2 separate regions of the Homo sapiens genome follow, and region 1 is linked to region 2. Evidence: promoter capture Hi-C in 16 types of primary human blood cells and fetal thymus (Javierre and others, 2016). All regions are on one chromosome and are shown on one strand. Each heading gives the region's core, a stretch centred on a gene start or on the middle of the fragment in contact. The rest is flanking DNA. Distances are from core to core; before and after follow the strand shown. Region 1 holds the start of ACP2 (acid phosphatase 2, lysosomal). Region 2 overlaps CKAP5 (cytoskeleton associated protein 5).

What was found. Contacts are between HindIII fragments. The CHiCAGO score rates a contact against its expected background, and 5 or more counts as called.
Region 1: a contact is called between the fragment with the promoter of ACP2 here and a fragment that was not itself captured in region 2, in 1 of 17 cell types (erythroblasts). The highest score is 5.2, in erythroblasts.

The regions. Positions count from the first base shown.
Region 1 is chr11:47,246,161-47,250,759 of GRCh38, reverse strand. It overlaps ACP2 (acid phosphatase 2, lysosomal), which reads left to right and starts at 1,946. Exons shown (of 11, transcript NM_001610.4): 1 at 1,946-2,084; 2 at 2,627-2,722; 3 at 3,033-3,119. The coding sequence starts at 1,971. It also overlaps a transcript of NR1H3 not described here. RefSeq lists a silencer at 1,503-1,670 and enhancers at 1,751-2,260, 2,391-2,480. The HindIII fragment of the contact is 7,782 bases long and covers 1,386-4,599 here.
Region 2 is chr11:46,824,992-46,829,440 of GRCh38, reverse strand. The region is part of intron 1 of CKAP5 (cytoskeleton associated protein 5); the gene reads left to right. Among named protein-coding and RNA genes, the nearest start is that of CKAP5, 19 kb to the left of the region's middle. RefSeq lists enhancers at 2,153-2,703, 2,704-3,256. The HindIII fragment of the contact is 1,112 bases long and covers 1,372-2,483 here.

The sequences.
Region 1 (4,599 bases), core at 697-3,196, 420 kb before region 2:
CAGGTATTCAGAGATGCTGATTTATGAAACCTGTAATAAATGGTCTTTGTGAACCATTTGGGATTATATGCAAAATTCCATGTGTGTGTTTATATGTGTGAACATTTTTCTGGAGGAGAGGTGCAAAATTTTCATGTGATTCATAAAGGGGCTTGTGATTAAATAAGAAGGTTAAGAACTGTTTGGCTACCCAGGCTTTGGCTCTTACTCTATTTGCTTCTTGGCCTCCTCCATGACAACTCTGGAAGCAAAGTTTAAATCCTGAAGTATATATAAATAATTGAATCTGGAGTCCTAGGACAAAATAAAGACAGATAATCCTGATCTTTTTTTTTCTTTTCTTCTTTTTGAGACACAGTCTTGCTCTGTCATCTAGACTGGAGTGCAGTTGCACCATCATGGCTCACTGCAGCCTCAACCTCCTGGGCTGAAGGTGATCCTCCCACCTCAGCCTCCCGAGGAGCTAGGACCACAGGTGTGTGCCACCACACCCAGCTAATTTTTAAACTTTTTTTTGTAGAGAGGAGATCTTCCTAAGCTGCTCAGGCTGGTCTCCAACTCCTGGGCTCAAGCAATCTTCCCACCCTGGCCTCCCAAAGTGCTGGGATTAGAAACGTGAGCCACCACACCAAGCCTAATCAGGTTTTTGTTGTTGTTGTTTTGAGACAGTCTCACTCTGTCGCGCAGGCTGGAGTGCAGTGGCGTGATCTCAGCTCACTGCAACCTCCGCTTTCCGAGTTCAAGCGATTCTCCTGCCTCAGCCTCCAGAGTAGCTGGGATTACAGGAGCACGCCACTGCACCCGGCTAATTTTTTTTTTTTTGTATTTTTAGTAGAGACGGGGTTTCGCCACGTTGGCCAGGCTGGTCTCGAACTCCTGACCTCAGGTGATCTGCCTGCTTCGGCCTCTCAAAGTGCTGGTATTACAGGTGAGCCACGGCGCCCAGGCCAAGCCTGATCAGTTTTGTTTCCCAAAGATCTGAGGAGATTTGCTTCCAGTAGGCAGATCTGAATCAAAGCATCCCCAGGACCTATGATCTGACCTGCAACCGTCACAGGAGTCACAAAGTCCTGAGGCCAAACTGGCTGCACCTGAATCCTAATGGTCAATGCCAAGAGGGCCATTGATTCTGTGGAAACCCCACCTACTCCCACTTTATGATATGCGCCTGTCCCTTACCTCAAAATACCTCCCCACTGGTCTGAAATTCCTCCCCCAGGGATTCAGTGCTTTGGGTTTGTAAAGTCTGAACATCCTGTGCAACCCAACTCCTTTGGGAAGAGGCATGACATGACGTCTTGACTCTAATTAACTAAAACTTGGAAGTGGAGGGGAGGGAGGACAGGGAAAGGACTGGAAGGGAAAGTGAGAGGGCTACTGAAGCTTTGTGCAGGGCAGGAACGGTAGGCCAGACTGGGGCAACCTCAAGGACACACGGAGTCCAAAGGGTTGTTTACATACTGTGTCCTGCACCCCAAGCAAAACATCTCCTGGAGAACAGGGCCAGGGCTCAATCTCCCCACAAAGGCAGGGGCGTGGAGAGAAGCGACCTCTACTTTCCCATCCCTCGCCTCAATTCTGCACCCGATCTAGCTATGGGGTCAAGCCTGGAGGGGACGCTGGTTCTCCAGACATGGTCCCGCCCACTGCAAGTGCCACCTTGGTAAGGGATTTCTCCGAGCAGAGGCAAACGCGAATTTGTGGCCTTCTTAATCAAGATGAGGTCTTCGAGCCCTGTCTGCCGCGCCAGGTCGCGTTACCTTCTTATGCTCCTCCGCCACAGCCAGACCACGACCCTCCTGCACGCAATCCCACCGAGACTGCGCCTTTTCCCCGCACCCCAGCAGGTCCCTAAGTAAGATGGCGGCGAACGCACTTCCGGCGTGTGTCCTTACGGGTGCGTCCGGGCGGCTGCTTGCAGGTGCCACCCAGCGGGTTCCAGCTTGTTTGCTGCATAGATTACAACGGTGATGGCGGGCAAGCGGTCCGGCTGGAGCCGGGCGGCTCTCCTCCAGCTCCTTCTCGGCGTGAACCTGGTGGTGATGCCGCCCACCCGGGCCCGGAGTCTGCGCTTCGTTACCTTGGTAATGAGAGATGGGCTCACCAAAGACTTCCCTGAAGCTAAAAGGGCAAAGGCCAGCTGGTGGAGGTCGAGGATCTCGGGAAGGAACAGCTGGTTTAGGAGGGGACGACTGGCCTGGGTAGTTGGGAGGCTGGATTCAGGATTGACCTGGAGCCCTGGCTTATGGGAGTCAGGATGACCGAATACGTCGGGGTGAGTCTGCCTTGAGACAGGGAAGTGGTTGAATGGTTAAGACTCATCCCTAAAGAAGCCTTTGGTTATCTTTTTTCCCCAGTTGTCCCCACCACATACGTTGCTTTCACTTCTCTTTTCCCTTCCTACCTGTACCTTGGCTTTGCCTATGGTCTCCAGTAGCATTGCTTAGCTAAGTTAGAATCTCTGGAATCTGGAAGAAGTGACTGACTCCTAGCTGGGGTCTTTTGCAGCCAGTAGGCTTCCCAGAGGGAATGAGACTTCCTTCCCTAACATGGGGCAAAAGGTAGGCTCTGGGTCCCTATCAAGGGGATGCTTCTGACCTATAGGCAAACCATTTTATTCTCTCAGCTGTACCGCCATGGAGACCGTTCACCAGTGAAGACATATCCCAAGGACCCCTATCAGGAAGAAGAATGGCCCCAGGGGTTTGGTCAGTTAACCAAGGTGGGTCAGAAGCCAGCCTTTCCTCAGGATGAGCTGCAGAATGAGCGACGTCTAGAGCAGTCTACAAAACTTGGGGTCCTACTAAACTGCCTTTTCCCATATGGGTGCTGACTTTGACCAGATTTCATAACCTTAATCTCTGTGCCCATGATATTGCTGTGCATGACTGGCCACTTAATGAAAGACTTCTGGGATCAGATTAATTGACTCCAGCAAAGCGTGAACCTGGAAAGCAACAGGGCCTAAACCCCATGGGGCTTGAAGCCACCCCTTCCCTCTAGACCCTCTTAACCCTTGGGTTTGCCCACAGGAGGGGATGCTACAGCACTGGGAACTGGGCCAGGCCCTGCGGCAGCGCTATCACGGCTTCCTAAACACCTCTTATCACCGGCAAGAGGTAAGGTTGGGAGCTCCAGAGGCAAGGGGAACAAGGTATGCTGCCCTCATCTTTTGCCCTCAGGGAGCCTAAGGCTGAGGCTGGGCACTTTGGCCTCCTTCTTGTATTTTTGGTCACAACTACAGGAAAAGACATCTGAGAGCTGTCTGGAACAAAGCCCTAGGAGCTGAGTTGCCCCTGCTTGGCTGGGATGAGGCAAATTTGATTAAGCATCCAAATTCGGACTTAAGGGCGGGCCTGGCAAAGTGGTTTCTGACTGTGAAATCACAGGCTTTCCATCCAAGACATTGAGTACCTATTAAAGGCCAAGGACTGTGCTAGCACTTTGCATTCAGTTGTGCACCATACAGATATGATCTCTGTCTTCATGGAGCTTAGAATGTTGTGGGGGTATCTAATGATAAACCAGACAGGGCCAAGATGAAAGACAGCGGGGAAGACATGCGTAGAGAGGGCTTGTCTTTTCTTGATCAAGATGAGGTTTTTGAGCCCTGTCTGCTGCGCCAGGTCGTGCTATATTCCTAGGGCACATCAGGGAGGACTGGTGAGTGTGCCTGCTCCTTGAGTCTTCGCCCCACCCCAGGAATGGGGGAAGCTGTTCCTCTGATTACCACTGTCAGCCTCAGCCGTATCAAGAATCCATAGACATTGTTATTGTTCTCTTAAGGCCCAGCTCTGTCCTGAGCTTGTCCTTCCCCAGTTTCCTCCTCCCTTTTCATGAGCCACTATCTCTGAATAAGCTCTTCAAAAAAAATTTTTTTTTTTGAGACAGAGTCTTGCTGTGTTGCTCAGGCTGGAGTGCAGTGACATGGTCTTGGCTCACTGCAACCTCCACCTCCTAGGTTCAAGCGATTCTCCTGTCTCAGCCTCCCAAGTAGCTGGGATTACAGGTGTGTGCCACCATGCCTGGCTAATTTTTGTATTTTTAGTAGAGACAGGATTTCATCATGTTGGCCAGGCTGGTCTTGAACTCCTGACCTCAGCTGATCCGCCTGCCTCGGCCTCCTAAAGTGCTGGGATTACAGGCATGAGCCACCGTGCCCGGCCCAAAATATATACATATATTTTAAAGGGGTCTCACTCTGTCACCCAAACTGTAGCACATGCCTCAGTCATAGCTCACTGCAGCCTCAAACTCCTGGGCTCAAGTGATCCTCCTGCCTCAGCATCCCAAGTAGCTGGGACTACAAGTGCCCGCCACACTTGGGTAATTAAAAAATTTTTTTTTGTAGAGACAGGGTCTCACTATGTTGCCCAGGCTGGTCTCGAGCTCCTGGCCTCAAGCGATCCTCCTGCATTGGCCTCCCAAAGTGCTAGGATTATAGGTGTGAGCCACCAGGCCCAGCCCTTTATCTTATTTTTTTCTCCCTGGTCTCTAAGGGTCGTCACTGGAGCCAGTTTCTGCCCCAAGGACCCTGATCTAGACAGGGAGAGAGGTGTTGTTATGAAACCAGACAGACCAGAGAGCCTTACTGATTGA
Region 2 (4,449 bases), core at 678-3,177:
CCCGAGTAGCTGGGACTAACAGGCATGTGCCACCAGGCCCAGATAATTTTTTGTATTTATTTTTAGAGACAGTAAGTAGACTGTCTTTTAAGTAAAGTAAGACTTTATTGCCCAGTAAGTAGAAAATATATTTACTATTCATTAAATGGAAGTGGATCATCATAAAGGTCTTCATCCTTGTCATCCTCATGTCGAATAGGCTGAGGAAGAGGAGGGGTTGGTCTTGCTGTCTTAAGGGTGACAGGGGCAGAAGAAAATTCACATGCAAGTCAACCCGTGCAGTTCAAATCCATGTTGTTCAAGGGTCAACTGTATTTATATATTTACTTCTGTCTTCCATATCATCTTTTGTTTACTTTAAATATTTGCAAAGCAATTTTTGTATAGACGAATGTCTCATTTTTTGTGTATGGTAAAAAACAATAGTATAAAATTTACCATCTTAACCATTTTTAAGTGTACAGTTCAATAGTGTTAAGTATATTCACATCGTTATGAAACAGATCTCCAGAACTTTCTCATCTTGCTAATCTGAAACTCTGTATCTAAATATTTCTCTTATCCCCCTCCCAAGCCACACCCCCACCCCATCTTTGGTTACTACCATTCTACTTTCTGGTTCTATGAATTCATGAATTTGACTGCATACCTCATAAAAGTGGGTTCATACAGTATTTGACTTTTTTTGTGACTGTTAGTAGATTTTTTTCTCTAATTTTTAAAATGTTTAATTCGCTCATAAGCACAGCACAGGGTATTATCCATTTGTGTGTGCATACACACATACACTCATTGTACTATGTTTATTGCAGTTAACTGAAGTCCTATGTCACTAGAATGCTATGTAACAGAAAATGTTGGTCATACCTCTTGTGATAAATATTTGTTGGGTACTTATTTTGTATCACACATTGGAAGAAAAAGATAATTAAGATACATTCCAGCCCTTGCCCTTGAGGAACTCACAATCTGATGAGAAAGGCTGATCTGCAAACCATTACCCTCAGAACAGTTAAGCTTGATGGGAATATAATGAATGAAGGTCTTAATTACCTAATTCAGAGGTATTCTTTACAGTTAAATGCATTGTAGAATGAGACTGTCTTGGCAGTTCAAAAATCAGACTGTTTTAATCTGAATCCATTTTTTACTTGGCAACTTTATTTATTTATCTACCCCGCCCCCACCCAAGTAAGGAAAAGATACTTGGCAACTTTAGCTTAGGGTTCTCTAAAACCTTCAGAATAAGAGTAACCTGAGTCTGCTCCCTGGTGGAGCAATCTTCATAACTGTTCTTTGGATTCTTAAATTTCTGCTTTATTCCTGTTGTGGATAGGAGAAATTGGGTTACTTACAAATGGTCTTTAAGCTTACTACATTGATTCCTGTACTGATCTGATGATGGCCCAAGGCTTTAAGGAGGTGTGTTGATTCATCTAAATTAGGTGGAGTAATATGGACTTAAAAAAAGCACATATCTTTCCTGTTGGTATGATGGGAGACACAAAATGCAGTCAAACCTTGTAAACTAGGATTCAGGACAAACTCCTCCTACAAAAAGAAAATTAAAACTAGTTGCTAACCTTTGGAGATCTCAGAGACTAGGACTTAACTCCTTGAAATATTAATGCCGTTTCTACTACAATTTTCTTAAGAACTCTTCATATTAAATTAGATGATTGCACATTACAATTGTATTGGCATGCAAGATTACTTACATAGACTTGTACATTTATTTACGTTGACTTTTAGGTCAATTTTTGAAAGATCACATTTTACACACAAGATGGGGAAGGTTATTTTTCTTTTTTTCTTTTATAGAGGTATGGTTTTGGTTAGTTGTTCAGGGTGGAGTGCTGTGGTGCAGTCTGGCTCACTGCAGCCTAGTCCTGGGCTCAGGATCCTCCCACCTCAGCCTCCGGAGTAGCTGGGACTAGTCTTGTACCACCATGCCCAGCTAATTTTTTATTTTTTGTAGAGATGGGGTCTCACTTTGTTGCCCAGGCTGGTATTTTTCTATTTCACCTTCTATTACCTTCCTGCCCATCTTGTATCATTGTCCAGGATTCCTCCAGTTTTGTAAAGAACGAATTCCGTGAAAAGGTGAGGTGGAGCATTGTAGGATCTTTTCCAGGCCTTTGAGTTGCCATTTGAAGAACTGCTCGAGTCCAAAGGAGGTTAATGAAGTAAGCAGCTTACATATAATGAGGGGCTATGTATCTACCTTGATGCTTTGGCTGTTACCTGCAGTAATTTTTTTCACCCTTGGAGGAGGGATTAGGATTGTGATAGTGGGAACTGGTCATCTCCTTTGTTTCTGGAATATTACGTGTAATACTACCAAAAAAAGAGGTCCACCCAACTGCAGTAGTCTTCCTAGTTGGTCCATCATTTGCCTCTTGCCTGGGAAAGCCTAGGACCTAGAAGCAGCGCCTGAGGCCTGCAAACCTCTGGGCGAAGATACACTGCGGCCCCTTTAAGCTTTCAGAGTGTGCGGAGAGGGGAGCTGAGGGTGGGGCGGGCACTCTGACAGTGGCGCTCCGGGCCCCGCCCTCGGAGGAGGCGTTTCCCAGCGGACCGCAGCACCAATGCTGCTGCCGCCGCCGCCGCCGCCTGCCGGGTATTCCTGCTGATCCTGCTCGGACCTTAGCTTCCCTGACCTCTCCCTGCCCGGGGAGCGTAAGTGTCAAACCACGGGCAAAGGGCAAGCATCCCGCGACCGTGCTGCAAGTCCTGGTGGACAGTACTGGGGACTTTGCTGGCCTATCAGAGGCTAAGGCGGCGAAAGAGCGTAAACAATGCCGGCTCCAGTGAGCTAAAGCCAGGGTATCTGCTCTACTTCTGGGTGGTGACAGCAGCCGTAGGGTGCTTGTTTGGGCATGCAGTGGGTGAGCAGTGCCCACGACCTGGCTTTGCCCCCACCTGGTTCTTACTTGGGGTGAGGAGAGGGTTGCTTTTACCAGAGTATAACCCATTTGAGCTGAATGGGTGGAGCTGAATCTCTCTCTCTGGGCCTTGGATCCTTACCCTGGTATTTGAAGACCTTGGTAGCTTTGGGATGAGTAAGCATTAGGTTTTCAGCTACCTTGGTACAGTCGAGCAGTAACTCCAAGTTGTCCTAATTCACAGCCAGGTTTAGCTGTCTCTCCAGAGGCCTGTGTTGGTGGTATCCCGTACCCCTTTTGGATATGTTGACAGTGAACATCTCTTAGGAAGAGTCCAGTTAACCTTTCCTCCTGATATAAAGAGCACAATGTGAAAGAGACAGCTCTTTACCCCTCTCCATCTCTGAAGGAATTTGTGGGACGCCACTGTCCCAAGATTAGGAAAGCAAACACACCAAAGTTTGAGATAATCTGCTAGAAAACTGTTCAGATTTCTGGCCGCCTGGTAATGCAGAATACTCCGGCAAGAGGATAACACTTGTCCTTGTTAATGGGAAATACCTGGAGACAGTGAGTTTTTTTTTTAATTTGAGGGAAAGTGTTGTCATTTTTGCCACCTGCTACTCAGAGATGGGATTTTGTCAGATTTTGGTTAAATAATAAAAATCTTAAGTTTTCTATGACAGTTACATAGTTGTTGTGTTTCTTTAATCCAGTTGTCCTTCCTAGACATGGTTTGAGTAGATTTCTGGGCATGTGTATGCATTGCTTTTTTAAAAAAATAATTTCTTTTTTTTTTTTTATGAGCCTATCATCACACTCAGTGGTCATTCAAATGGGTTGCTTTTTGATGGAGCAGAAGTTTTTCTCAAACTTCTGTTAAAATCATTCTGTGCTTCTGCAATAGCATCTCCTTAGCCAGAGGTGAGAGTCCAGGAATGGTAATCAAATTCAGATCTCTTGTATTGTGATAGTGAAGAGCTTTTGTAGGTCAAGAGCTTGGGAATTTGCCATAAAAAAGTCATACTGCCAGTGGTTTTTCTCTAAGTAGAAGAGAAAATAATCTGTACAGTAGCTCTGTAATTACTCTTATAGACTATCAAAATACAGGAATTTAAACTAAAAAGACACCACACTTGGGCCCATGGGTTGTAGGGAAGAGAGACAGACTGAGAAGTAGGAGACATAGGTTCTAGGCCCAGCTCTAGTATTACTCATGACTTAATCTCTCTGTCCCTTTTAAATGGTTGGTTAATGAGAAAATGCACAGATTTTGGGGTCTCTTTTATGATGGGATATAGTGCATATTTAATAGGAAATTTGTTATTTATTTGAACACTAAACTGAAAAATCAGACAATTTGGAATTTATTCTAAGTTCTGCCTTCATGTATAACCTTGAAAACATTTCTTAACCTCTAGTCTAAAAATAAACAATTATGCCTAAACCTTTTCAGCAATAGCATGGACTATATGGTATTTGAGCTCTTAGGAAGACATTTTTAGATCAGTGGTATATGATTATAATATATCTGTAAAACATACTTACTTTAGCTGACCTACTT